2 separate regions of the Homo sapiens genome follow, and region 2 is linked to region 1. Evidence: promoter capture Hi-C in 16 types of primary human blood cells and fetal thymus (Javierre and others, 2016). All regions are on one chromosome and are shown on one strand. The core of a region is centred on a gene start or on the middle of the fragment in contact, and the rest is flanking DNA. Distances in the headings are between cores, read along the strand shown.

Region 1 (7,067 bases), core at 2,927-5,426:
ATTAGCTCACATATATTAAGAACATGGCTCATTTAATCTTGACAACCCTATGATGTTCTCCACTGTCCTGATGGGAGAAAGCGAGACTTAGTGACTTGCTAGTGAGAGGCAAAGAAGGGATTAAATCTAAGTCCCATTCACTCTGGTGCTCAAGTGCCAAACCACTACCTTTCAGGACCTCACAGGAAGAACCAGACGAAAATAGAGAATGACTGGGGAAGAGAGAAAACCAAAGTAGGTGGGAGAAAGAGAGGCAGCCTGAGTGGCTAGAATCAACTTCCCAATTTCAGGAGCACGGACTCAGCACCCAATGTGGATGGAAGAGGTCTCCCTTATTAAAAACATTTGAGGGATTGACTGCAGGAGCTGACCTGAGGGGTATCCAAGGTTTGTTTTTGTCTCTCATCTGTTATCCCTTTTCATTATAAAGAAATTTCTGAGATCTGTCACACTCATTACAACAAATGTCACTACACTGAAAAATGTTTGAAATTCCTCATTTCAAGAACCAGTATTTCTCATGTGTATATTTTGCAAAATTCCTAAAGTAAAGCAAGAGAGAAGCACACTGAGCCTCAGGTCCTTGTTGAAGTCATGATGGTCCAGGGCCCTTTCCCAGCTTTTCCTACTTAGGAATTAAATTTCAGCAGTTTTTCCATGAGCGTTCAATCATTTGCAGTGGGATTCACAGTGACCAGTCATACGATTCATTCATTTCAACAAGTAGTTGCTGAAAACATTTTGTGTTGAATATTCTCCTTTGAACCCTCTAGAATTTCTGTCCCTTTCTGCACCTGCTCTGCCCCCAGAATGGGAGGTGATCTTTTTGGACTTCACTAACAATCTGGCTCTATTTATGTCCAAATAGTAGAAGCCATCAGCAGGAGATGAAGGGGCAGGAGGAGAGTGAAGTAAGATTATTCCTTCCCTATGGAAGAACAGGGGTCTGCAAACTGTAGCCCAGAGGCCCTATCTGCCCTGCAGCCTACTTTTGTAAATTAAGTTTTATCAAAACACAGCCACACATATCCATTTAAATATGGCCTATAGCTGCCTTTTACATTCCAGCCAGCAGAGTTGAGTAGTCATGACATGACAGAGATGGTATGATCTGTGAAGCCTAAAATATTTATTTTCTGGCCCTTTACAGAAAAAAGTTTGTTGACCCCTGCCTTAGGTAGGTTCCTCTTCAGGTAGGATTAATCTTTTTTTGTTTGTTTTTGAGATGGAGTCTCACTCTTGTCACCCAGGCTGGAATGCAGTGGTGTCATCTCGGCTTACTGCAACCTCCTCCTCCCGGGTGCAAGCGATTCTCCTGCCTCAGCCTCCCAAGTAGCTGGGATTACGGGCCCTTGCCACCATGCCTGGCTAATTTTTGTATTTTTAGTAGAGACAGGGTTTCACCATGTTGGCCAGGCTGGTCTCAAACTCCTGACCTCAGGTGATCTGCCCACCTTGGCATTCCAAAGTGCTGGGATTACAGGCATGAGCCACTGTGCCCGGCCGGCAGGATTAATCTTTAGGCAGCTTTATTCCTGTCACAAACCACTACTGTTGGTTGAATGGCACTCTCTACAGCTACAGCTACAGCTACACTACAGGTAGAACTATTCCTGAGTTCTGGTAATTATTTCTTTCCCTGGCCCTGTTTAGGCCTACGAGTGATTGTCAGTGTTGCTAGTCCCAGGGACTACATGGCACATATACTGCCACTTTCCTTTATCCCTGCATACACTCAGTCCTTTTGTGTCTCCTAATTTACCCAGTTGGATTGTGCCACCTATTTCCTGCTAAGACCCCAACTGACTTATTACACGCATAGCATCGTACTAGAAGCAATAAATAAATAGAAAAGAAAAGAAAAGAGGAAGTCCACGTACATATTCTTATTTTATGGTGGTGATGACAGGTGAGCTGAGCAATGTGGATAAGGTAAGTATGAATAACTGTGATAAAAGGAAGAATGTGATAAGTACAATAAGAGAGGCCAATACACAAGGGAGAAGGGAAACAATCACATGTGGTTGAAATATTCAGGAAAGTTTTCATTATTTAAGTGGCATTTGAGCTGAACCCCAAAGGGCTGGTTAGTTTTAGAAAGGTGAATATTTTTGTAAATTAGAATTACAGATAAGTCTACAACATGAGGTATTTGGAGGAAAATAAATAATGATTTCCAGTTTCTTCAGTGAGACAATTAACAGGGCACTTTGGCCATTATCTCATTTTGTTCTCATGACTCCACGAAGTAGTGGCTATTATTAACCCATTAACAGATAATGGAGCACAGGCTTTTTTTGAAAACTAAGTAACTTGCCCATGATTTACAACTCAAAGGAGAAGAGTAAGGATTCTTACATTCTTACCCAGATGCTTAATCCTTAGGAAGATAGCAAGGCATAAATTGTGTTTCAGTGGTGGTTTCAGGCTGGTTCTGCTGCAGAAATAAAGCCAAGGTCATTGATTTTGGCCACATCTGAAGCAACTAACATTATGTGAAGAACGTTGGGCTAATGTTCCACAAGTACTGGGTAGTCTCTGAGGCTTTTTGCTTAGGCCAATGAGACAATTGGAGTTGTATGCTTAAAAAAATATGGTCTACGTTATATATAAAAAGGGGTTTGAAGTAGGGTGATAGTAGTGGGGTTTTTAAAGGACAGTGTCAACACCAAGGGTAAGGCTGAGGGGCCAGAGGAAGAACTGAAGTGACCGTGGCTTTTTAAGTCTGGATAGGTGGTGAGTAGGAAGGCAGTGATATTAGTAACAGAGCTGGTGAGCACAAAAGGGAAGGCTTTATTTTATTTTATTTTTTGAGACAGGGTCTTACTCTGTCACCCAGACTACAGTGCAGTGGCATGATCATGGCTCACTGCAGCCTCAACATCCTGCGGCTCAAGTGATCCTTCCACCTTAGCCTCCTAAGTAGTTGGGACCACAGGTATGTGCCACTACACCTGGCTTTTTAAAATTTTATTTATTTTTATTATTTTTATTTTTAGTAGACACAGGTCTTGCTACGTTGCCCAGGTTAGTCTTAAACTCCTGGGCTCAAGTGATTCTCCAGCCTCAGTCTCCCAAAGTGCTGAGATTACAGGTGTGAACCACTACACAGCCTTTGGAAGACTTTCCAAGAATGATAAGGGATCCGATTTTGGAAATGTGAAGCTGAAGATACAGAAGAAAATTCCAACTCTACTTACAGATAAAATTCTAATTTGGGGTTGGGCACAGTGGCTAACACCTGTAATCCCAGTGCTTTGGGAGGACGAGGTGGGAGGATAGCTTGAGGCTAGGAGTTCCAGACCAGTGTCCTGGTCAACACAGCGAGACCCCATGTCTACCACAAATAAATAAATAAATAATTTTCTCTGCAATTGGAGATATGAGTGGAGTCTCAAGAACGTTCTGGCTATAGATTGTTGACATAGGAGTTCAGTAGCTAAATACATCTATGGCAGGTATAAGAAGAGTAAGTGGTGGAGAAAGTTGTAAAAACAGGAGGGAAGATTAACTTCTGACCGTTGACGCCTTGGGGAATCACAGCTGGGCTTCAGACGATTCTTCAGTTCCTAGTGCTGGGGCTAGTGTCTATGAAATACGTTTTCCCCCTCCCTCCAGGCCTCCTAGGTAGTTAGGACTTTTCAATAACATTGGACATTGCCATATGCACATGAACACACTCAGTTTTAATTTCTCAGATTCTCCGCTTGCTGGCTTCTAAAACTGTTGTAAGAACTGTTATCTGGCTTCACAGGGTTGTGACAAGGCGGTGAAATGCTTTGAAAAGTGTCTATAGCTAAACAAACGTGAGGTACCGGCGCTCGCAACTTTTCCCCAGGAGATGTGCACCTCTATTTAGAGCGTAATGCCCAGACTATTTTCGTTGCTTTCCGTCCCCGCCCGCCTTCTGCCACGGACAGTTACAAACCTGGTCGATAATTATCCTGGGAGAACTCGACGTCCCAGCTAAGAACGCAGGTCAGAGATCAGAGATCAGAGACAGAAGGATCTTGGGGAGGAGCAGGGGCCGGGCATGACGTAGCAACTGGCAGCGCCGCCGATTGGCAGATGAGAAGGTTGTTCCCTCAGGGCGGCTGCTGATTGGCTACGGGAGGCAGAGGCGTGACGTCCTCAGAAGTTGAGCAAACACCTCCTACTTCCCGGCCTTCCATCCCAGTTTCTTCTAGGAATTCGGAGCCTCCCCTGCAGCGACTCGGAAGATTCGAGGCGGCGGGGGACAAGTCGGCGCCCCAGAGCGGACGAGGTGAGGAGAGGAGAGGTCCCCGCGGAGAGCTGAGCAGACGCGCGGGTGGGCTCAGCCTGTGAGATGCGGTGGAGATAGCGGGCCGGGCTCGGGCTGTCGCTGGGAGGGGCCCGCGAGCCTGGCCTTCGGGTCCCGGCGCCGCGAGGCGACCCCGGCCGGGCCGAGAGAGGGAGAAGGCGGCGAGCATTCGGGCCTCCCTGCGAGGAATGGAGGGAGAGCGGAAACGCAGAGAGTTTCACTGCGAGGAAGGGAGGGAGAGCGGTCAGCGCAGCTCCAGCATTTCTAAGTAGAAAGGCGAGGGATTGCAATTCGGATTTCTTTTCTTTCTTTTTTGGCGGACAGTGGTGGTGCTGTGGCTGGGGAATAAAGAACTGATGAAGCTGAGGAAACAACGGCTTGTTAATTTGTGGACGGCGTGCTTAGAGGGGACGGCTGGCTGAGGGGGCGGTGGATGGAGATTTCGGGGTGGTTCTTTCCCCCTTCCCTCCCCACGCCCAGCTTAGCCAAACTGATCACAAACTTCTCTCCTTGTCCATCTTGGGCTGCCCACTCTCCGAGACACAGACCCATTCTCCAGCAAGGATCGGAGATGGGTGGAAGTTGGGCGCCTTGCAAGTCTGGGTTTCCTGAACTCTTCAGCCCCTGCGGGACTATGCAGCCCATTGTGAGCGCTCGCGCGGGACGGGGCGCGGGGAGAAGCAGTTTACCCACCCTCCTCGGTTGAATGGGGCTGAATGTCTGTCTATCCTGACAGCTTCAGAAGAAGAAATGTGCTTTTCAGACATTGATTTCAGGGGAATGGGGGTGGGGGGAGCGGAAGAGAGAGAGAGAAAGAGCGCTCGAGCGCGAGAGAGAATGAATTAGTTCAGTAACTTGAACAAGGATTAACATTTTTTGATGTTGTGGGTTATCAGTGGGGAAGGTGCAGCTGTGAGATGTAGTTATACACAGGACGGAATGGTCCTTGACTGAAGCTGCGGCTTTCCAATACTGTATTAAAAAAAATCCCAAAACACTGATGGCACTTTGGTGTTTCTGGGTTTGTCTGTTTTGTCCCCTGCACTCCCCTCTTCTTTTTTTCCCATGAAGATGAGTGAATCTAGGGCTACATGACTTGACTGTGTAACCTGGTGGCCATTCTGCAAAATGAGTTAGGTGGACAAAAATTGAAGCCAATTTACCTGAATCATTTTCCCACTCTTCAGATAATCATATTTGTTATCAGTTTCACTTGTTATTGATGATGGCGTGATCAGAACTTTGGTTTATTTGTCATTGAATTTTTTTTCTCACTAGTCGTTTAACAGACCTTGGTTCGGAATTTTGGAAATGATCTTTGGTGTTTAAGAAGCCACCATTTAACAAAACATTTTCATTTTTTTCATATATTCTTTTATTAATTTTCTCATAGAAATAACATTACAAACAGTGGTAAGTTTTCTTGGGAAGGCTACAAAAGATTCTATGCAATTCATGAAATCATGGAAACAAACATTTGGAATGGAAAATAACCCCAAAACATTATTACCACATTCATCTGATCTAAGGTGTCATCTATTGTAAGATGCATCCCTATTTCACTGATGCTAAAATGTGTAAAAAAATTGTCTTAAATTTGATGAAATACAACATTAAAATGGTAATTTATTTATCTTGAACATGCATGCCTGAAGTTTGAAGTTGAAGAGAGGGCTTATTGGGCTCTAATTATTTTTTTTCCAAAATAATGTAAGGGTGGGGGATTAATATGGAGCCATCGTGAAGGTCTTACTACAGTGTGACAGAGGAAAGAAATGTGAGTCTACTGTTAGCGGCGTGGTTGTGCTCGCTTTTGAGGAGTAGGCAAGCCTGGAGGCTTTTTCTTTTCTTAAAATTTATTGTTTATGACACACAGCAATGCTCAGCACTTTATGCATATTAGCTCAATTAAACGTCTTAAGAGCCCTAAGAGGTAGAGGTTAATATGATTCTCATTTTGCGCATGATGCACAGACAGGTTAAGTTGCCAGCCAAGGTCACAGAGTAAGTTTGGCCGCTGAGGAACCCAGGAGAGAAACCAGTATTCCTTTGAGGTATCCATCTTCTGTTGCAAGCTCTTGGTTCCTGGTCCATGCTATTAATGCAGGTAGCTTAGGTGAATGTCCACTCTTTCTTGATTGTGTTTTTGGTATTTTGTTTCCCTGTTTGGTGTACTTTAGCTAGAAATTCATAAGTCAGAGTGCCTATTTATGTTCTACATTTCTAATGTTTTTGTAATTCTCAGTGTCCAGTTACTACTATGCTTAATAGAATCAGAATATCAGAGCCTGAAAGGGACTTTAGTATTATATTTTTGTCTGGGTAAGGAAACTGAAGTCAAGAGGAGGAACCCTACATCTAGTTATGTGTCCCAGCTCCCATGTCTAAGTTTTCCCACTATACTGTACTATATTTCACGACATTTGTTGATCTATGAGATCTTGGAAGAGAATCAAGTTTTTTTTTTTTTTTTTTTTTTTTTTTGCAGGGTTAGGGGGATGTGAGTCTCTTATTAATGTGTCTATTTTATCTGTTTGTTTGTTTGTTTGTTTTCTTGCTGCATAGGTCTTTATAATGTTTATTGAATTTGCTTTTTCATTTATTCATTCTTTCTTAAAACACTTGCTGTTTTCCCATGTGCCAGTCATTGGGAATACAGAGATGAGTAAAACACAACTCATACACATTTGCAGTTTAGCAAAGAGACAGACAAGTAAGCAGATAAGCATTTTGGACTAGACTCCGATTTAGAACTAACTTTGTATTCCATTTCAATGAAGCTAAA
Region 2 (7,067 bases), core at 3,111-5,610, 390 kb before region 1:
TATTTTTTGGTTTATAGAAACATCCCTCCCCATTACTACTTTTGAATAATTTAGAGGTTCTGCTAATTGCCACATACTCAGAAACTGTATTTGCTTCTTTTCTTAGTGGCTAAGGAACCTTGGATATTCACATATTTTGAAATTGATTTCATTGAAATAAGAGAATGAAAGGAATTAAAAATGCACTTTTTTCCTGTTTAAATCTTTCTTCATGTCATTTATTAAAAATAATGACATTTCCATTGATGTACATTACTGTTAATCTGCCATCAAATCAATTATCTCTTCTGTGGCTATCTGAGGCCTGGCCTATATTTACTCAATAATTTACAAACTCTAAATATTAGGGTCTTGAGTTAGGACATAAAATTCATCATCAGTTTGACATTTATTTCTCATCTCAGAATTGTATCAGTTTGTAAGTTTGGCATGGTGAATATCTCAATTTATAACTATGCCTTAAGCCTGTGACTTTGTAGTGAATTATATGAAAAACAAATCTGCATAATATCTTTCAGCCTAGTAAATATATTTGCTCTCCTCTGTGTAGTTACTTTGCTGAAATATCACTTAGAGACTATGTTGGGAGGCATTGTTGAAATAGTCTTGATATGTTAAAAGCTTAGCCTATTTTGAACTGATCATATCAGTTCAAGGAATTTACCTTACTACAAAAGCAAATGATTTTGATTGTTTAAATGTAAGATTAGGAAACAAAATCCCTCATATTAAAGTTGTCTAGAGTTTAGATAAAAATCAGAATCACGCTTTTAAAAGAATTCAGGTGCAATAAATAGAATTCAGATCAGCAAATGTTCAGACTCCTAAATCATTGGCAAATTAGGTAATACACAGAGCTGGAGATGTGAATATTATATAATGAGGATAATAAAGGAGTTGAATGTGATGTGCCTTGGGTGCATGTTAGTAGCTAATTCCAATATGAATGCTTTGCAATCATTTGCCAGCAGAGATGCATGCGTTCGGCTAAATGGAAATCTTGGACGTTCTCTCATACACCCCATTATTTGTAATTGAACACCTGATTTCTATCATGCAACAAATTAACATCTGCACTGGATCTGTCTTTTATGCATATGGATACACTGATTAGAATTTTGCAGATAGGCAGATACTTGAAAACAAAAAGACAACATTGTGAAACACTTCCAGCCATAATTTTTGATTACATATTGAGAATCGTTTAATTATCTTACTCCATGTAATTAGCTCTTCTACTTAGGTCAATTGCTTTTTTTATTAACATGACATGTTAGCAATTTGTTAATTGGCATAAAATAACATGAGACTTCTGGATATTTCATATGAGAAATACATGTGCTTAAGGAAGCTAAGGGAAACACAAAGAGGTAAATGCATTCATTAGCCCCATTATATTGGTGCCACCAAAAGGTGTGCTTCTATTCTTTGAATTTCTGTCCTTCCGTTAAGCAGTGTGAGTTTGTTGATTTGAGTGGTTACAAAAATTTAAGACCATGGGTGTACATTTAAAATAGAAGAGTATTTTCTGAAATTAAAAGAATGATAAAGAAATGGATATAAAAATGCTAGCTGGTGGCAGGGAGCTAGGTAGAGAGTTACATACATTCAGGTAAGACAATTATTAATTGTTAAAGAGATTTGTCGTTATCAAGCCTTTAAGCTCCAGGCTATTTTTTTAACTACTGCTTTATATTAATAATTTCTACATATTAATAAAGATATTATTGGTTTTATCTAGAAAGAAAAATTGATTTTCTTTCAAGGAATTTCTCTAGCATCTGGCACAAATAGACAACTGCCAGTATCCTACATATTAGATATGTAGGAATTTAAGAGCTAAAAGAGATTTGAGGGTTACTTAGCCCCACATCTCTAGAGGGCAAGAGTGATAGGCCTTTCTAAAAATGGGGGTGGGGGTGCGGAGCATTTATGTATTAACCCTGTTACTGAGTATGTTATGGGCAAAGCACTAGGTTGGGCATTCTGACAAATAAAAAGATAAATTCGCATAACCCTATCCCAGTGAGAAATGTTTAGTGTTCCTTTTTTGTAAGTAATGTTTTTATCCACTTGGGGGCACTATGATCAAATTTAAAAAGCAAACAAGAAAAATGTTATTTTGGTTTATTTCCATTAAAATTGTTTATCGTACTCTCGGGAAATATAACTGTATACTTTTAGATAAAATACCTTTTAAATATACAGAGATGGTTGGCTTTTATTCTTTTCATTTTTTTAAGTTTCAGAATAGGTACAGATTAAAACAGCAGTTCTCAAAAGTGTGGATACTGGATACCAGGCCAGCAGCGTCAGCATCACCTGAGAACTTGAACATGCAAATTCTCAGGCCTGATCTGTCGATCTGGAACTCTGGGAGGTTGTGGGGTTGGCGGGGTAGGGGGGTGGGGGTGGGGAGAGGTCGGAGTGCGGCAGTGTGTATATTCACAAGCTGTCCATGTAAGATTTTTGTTGCTTATTAACATTTGAAAACCCCTGAATTAGAATATGTGCAATTTGAAATACTTTATTTCCAACTCTTTAAAAATTAAGTTATCAATTAGCTTATTAATATGTTTGGAATATTGTAGAAAATGTGTTTCTTAGGAAAGTTACCTACATTAGCAATAGATAAATAGATGAGCCTGAAGACTTAAGGTAATTTTTTTGCCCGTGATTGTGCAACTGTGTCCATATAAGTCAGAGTAGTTAGTTGAATGGTCATTTTTATCTCCTCCTCAAAAAGGAACAATTTGAGATAAATCATTTGTTGTATTATGTAGAAAAATCAGCCAATTGATAGAATTTCCCAAATCTAACTTTTTGCAATGTCGGGGCATAGCCTAGATGTCAAGATAATGCTAACAGGCTAACAGTATTTTGTTTGTTTGTTTGTTTTGTTTTTTTTTTTTTTGAGACGGAGTCTTGCTCTGTCACCCAGGCTGGAGTGCAATGGCACGATCTTGGCTCACTGCAACCTCCGCCTCCTGGGCTCAAGCAATTCTCCTGCCTCAACCTCCTGAGCAGCTGGGATTACAGGCACCTGTCACCACACCCAGCTAATTTTTGTATTTTTAGTAGAGATGGGGTTTCACCATATTGGCCAGGCTGGTCTTGAACTCCTGACCTTGTGATCTGCCTACCTCAGCCTCCCAAAGTGCTGGGACAACAGGAGTGAGCCACCGTGCCCAGCCTGCTAACAGTATTTTTTAAAACATCTCTGTAGTATCTTTATACTTATTACAAGGGATAATACATATATTGGGTCATTTGATCCTCTGGATAATTCTTTGAAGCAATTAGGAAACCAATCGTTATCTCCATTTACAATTAGAAAAAACTGATTGAGACTCAACTGAGACCAGTTTTAGAATTCTTAGAATTCTTATCTGTAAGTATATTAGTATAGGGACTCTACTCATTCTCTTTTTAATAAGTAGGTAATTTTGTTGCCCCATTCTTAAGAGTTAGTGGGAACAACTAAAAGAGAATACTGTTGCCCTTAAGAGAAGAACTTCAAACCTCTGGTTTTAGGAAGGAGAATCTTGCAGGTGTAGATGACTAGACTGTGAGGCTGGAACTTGAATTCTGAGGGTTCCCCTCCTGGGGGGATTCTCACATCCTTTCCACAATACTGTGCTTGACCTCAGACATACCCTAACTTCACCTCTTCTTCTTTCTCTTCCATTGTGGACACTCTTTTCTTTGACGCTCTCTGCAGTTAAAGCAGTGTAGAACTTCTGAAAGTCTTTATGCTAAAGGACAACAAATGAGAAAGTAATCACAAAGAATATAATAAACTACCAGTACAGCTTGCTGTCACTGATGGATTCTGAGCTGTTTCTCTACTGCAGTGTGACACTGTACTCTCTCAAGATTGCTGACTTTAAATGGCACCTCAGTGAGGCTTCCCTACTACTTAACTCTTAGTTGTTGTTGGTTTTTTCTCAGTGAAGATTCCTATCTTACGCCCACCAGGGATGGCATTCTATACATGTGAACACTTTCCCATTCACAATCAATCCAGCATCTAGCACAGGAGGTCCCTCTCCCCAGAATACAAGGAATGGTCTTGATCCTGTTGTTCTGAGATCAAGACCATCTCCTCCGTATAAAAGAGGTAAAAAGCTTACTTGAAGACAATTTTATATATATGGTAGCTGGAAGCCATTGCTTCAAAATTAAATAGAATGCTAAAGTGAATCTTGTAGCAAAGTCAGAAAGTATAAATATTTAATGAATATTGTGTATTAATAGTTATGTGTAGTTTTTAGCACAGTCTTTTGTAGTATTAAAAGTATCAGAAGTTGGTTATAACTTACTGTTGTCTGTAGTGATAATTGAAACCTTATAAGATTGTTATATTAACTGAGATATGTAAAGCATAAAGCACAATACTTAGAATATAGAAAATTTATCTTTTGAAAGGTAAGTTGTTATAAGGAAAATGATGGTGATAAAATGCAGTGGGGATAGTTATTTTAACAACATTAGTAGAGTATACTATGGCATAGAATATTTCCTAATGTAACATAGTCTCATTTTACTCACTTTTTAAAATTTGTTTTTACTTTCAGATAGAGTGAAGCTTAATTAACTTGAAAGCTAGTGGGAAAAAAAAAAAAAAAAGCTAACTTAAGCCTAAGTGGAAACCTTTTCTTATTTCAAAGCTTATTGTTGAAAACTATATTGAAATTTGTTAGAATTTTGTGCTTTTTAGAGTTCACAAATATATTTTATTTTTAGATTACTAAGGATCATTTACTCACCTGTGTTCATCTGTCTGAAAGTCTGTCTTGTAGGAACTACCATGGTAATTTATCTTTACCTTTTATAATATCTTCTGCATTATTTTTGTATTAAGTATGAGGATATCTTCTGTTCTAAACTGCCCAAAGTAAATATTAAGTGAGTCAAATAGCACTAATTCCAAAATATGTCTTATAGAGTCTAAAGTAAGTTTTTCATGCCAGTTTTCTAATTGTAGATCAAAGGAAGGAAATAAAAAATAAAAACCTCTGAAGAGTTAAAGAATTATTTGGATTCTAATCTATTAACATTATAGTGCAATTCTTGTTAACTTTCCAATTATTTATGTATCTCCCTGAAAAGCAGATATAAATGTGCCAGCAATTGAATCAAACCTCATACCCAGGAATGTAATTTTGGCGTGGATCTTCAAGCGGGATCCACATTTTATTTTCCTGTGGAAAAATAACATACCTTCTTAATTGAAGCTGAATAAATCTTATGTTTCTTTTCAATTCTGCTGTTTAGATGGTGCCATCCAAAAGACAGGGAGGAAAAATATATTTAAAAGTCATTTTCTTCCAAAGGCTGATTTTCCTCCCATTCCATTTAATGGTTGTTACTCATTAAGAAAAATCCAGAGACACCACCAGACTGGCTTTAACTCTTTTATTCTTTTCTATTAATTAGTATTGTTCCTCTACAAGTTCATGTAACAGATTTCTAGTCTTTATCCCTAGTTTTATGTGTAATAGGAGAAGGATTTCTGCTTATAATAGTTGTAAAATTAGGGATGGGTATACTTTTTTCAGTGAAATAAATGCCTTACTTATTTCTTTTACTCCAAATGTGTTTTTATGCCTCTTTCATTTGTATGCCTATGAATGTATGAGTCTGTGAAATGATTCCATTAAAATAGAAATATTTAGTTATTTGAACTAATATATCTTAGTGTTGCTTTTTTGGGGTGGGAAGGTACTGATTTCCTGTGCTGAAATGTGCCGTAAGAAAAAAGAAAGAAAAGGAATAGATTTTGTTTCGGAGTGGTTTATAAGGAACAACTTCACAAGTACCTTTGGACATGGCATTGTAATTCTTGTAGGACAAAAGTAATAATATGTATATGTCCAGTAGATGGCGCAAACATTCCCCCAAATAGAAAATAATTGTCTTAAAGTACAAAACTTGGTATTAATAATAAAAGTGGCACTTATTTAAGTAGAATTAAGTAATTTTCAACACATTTTCTTTTTCAAAAATGTAAAAAGAAAAGGTTAAAAGGAAGTGAAGTGGTAGTTCATTTTGGACATATCAAACTTGTCAAGAAAGTATCAAATTAATATAGAAAAACTTTAATGTTTAGTAGTTTATGAATAATCAAAGATATCACAAGGTCAGTTTTAACAAAAAATATCCAAAACTTGAAATTTGGAATATGTTGTGTAAATGTCAAAAGCTATTTTTCCTACTATCTTGGTTTCATTTTTATGTGTCCTACATTCATAAGCAGAAGCACTGTGAATATAGTTTTGTCAGCAAATAAATAAATGGAATTCTTAAGCTTTAAGTTAAAAAGGAAAAGAAACATTATATAAATCTAGTCCTATGTAGTCCATCCTTACTGCCCATGGATTCTTTATGACTACTGGCTTTACTTAGTTATTCATTCTCCCCTAAATAAAGATACATGAGAGAGAAGCTGAACGTTATAATTTTTGTAGTAGTCTAGAATTTGTTAGTTGGTTGATAAGTAGCAATTTCTTAAGAACTTAAGAAATTCTGTAGCTTGCAACATAATACAGGTACTCTTTAGAAACATTGCTTTTATCTAATGAATAAGAAGAGCTAGTTTTTGTTGTTGTAATGTGTGACATTGTAGGTATTCTTCATTTTAGAAAAAGATATACTTACATTCTTGCCCCATTCTTGGAAAGCTTTTTTCCTTAAATGGGACAAAGCTGAAAAGTTTATTACCATCCTCACACCCCAAAGAGTCCTTCAAACAAGTTAAGTTGAAATATTTTCTGTTCTGCTTACCACCACCACCACCACCACCACCACCACCACCACCACCACCACCACCACTAATGCCTTCATCTACATTGTGTTTTATAGTTACAAAGGCCCCTTTCATACATCATTGCAGCAGATTTTTGTAATGACCCCATCTATTATAGCAAGGGAGCTAATATTGCTATTCTTGTTTTACAAATGAGAAAAGTAAATCTTATACCTGGCACTTAGCCATTTAGAGAATCATTTAGGTTCTCTCTCTTTCTCTGTTTGTCTGTCTCTCTCATTATTTTCACCCTTCTCTC

What was found. Contacts are between HindIII fragments. The CHiCAGO score rates a contact against its expected background, and 5 or more counts as called.
Region 2: a fragment that was not itself captured here is called in contact with the fragment with the promoter of AASS in region 1 in 3 of 17 cell types (M0 macrophages, endothelial precursors and M2 macrophages); the score reaches 6.2 in M0 macrophages.

Annotation. Positions count from the first base shown.
Region 1 is chr7:122,141,358-122,148,424 of GRCh38, reverse strand. AASS (aminoadipate-semialdehyde synthase) reads left to right here and starts at 4,176. Exons shown (of 24, transcript NM_005763.4): 1 at 4,176-4,264. LOC102724527 (a long non-coding RNA gene) reads right to left here and starts at 4,011. Exons shown (of 6, transcript XR_007060500.1): 1 at 3,929-4,011. RefSeq lists enhancers at 3,796-3,845, 4,847-5,352 and a silencer at 4,346-4,545. The HindIII fragment of the contact is 8,294 bases long and covers 1-7,067 here.
Region 2 is chr7:122,527,878-122,534,944 of GRCh38, reverse strand. All of the region lies in intron 8 of CADPS2 (calcium dependent secretion activator 2), which reads left to right. It overlaps LOC105375481 (a long non-coding RNA gene), which reads right to left. Exons shown (of 4, transcript XR_001745347.2): 2 at 3,657-3,755. Among named protein-coding and RNA genes, the nearest start is that of RNF133, 170 kb to the left of the region's middle. RefSeq lists an enhancer at 6,776-7,067. The HindIII fragment of the contact is 460 bases long and covers 4,131-4,590 here.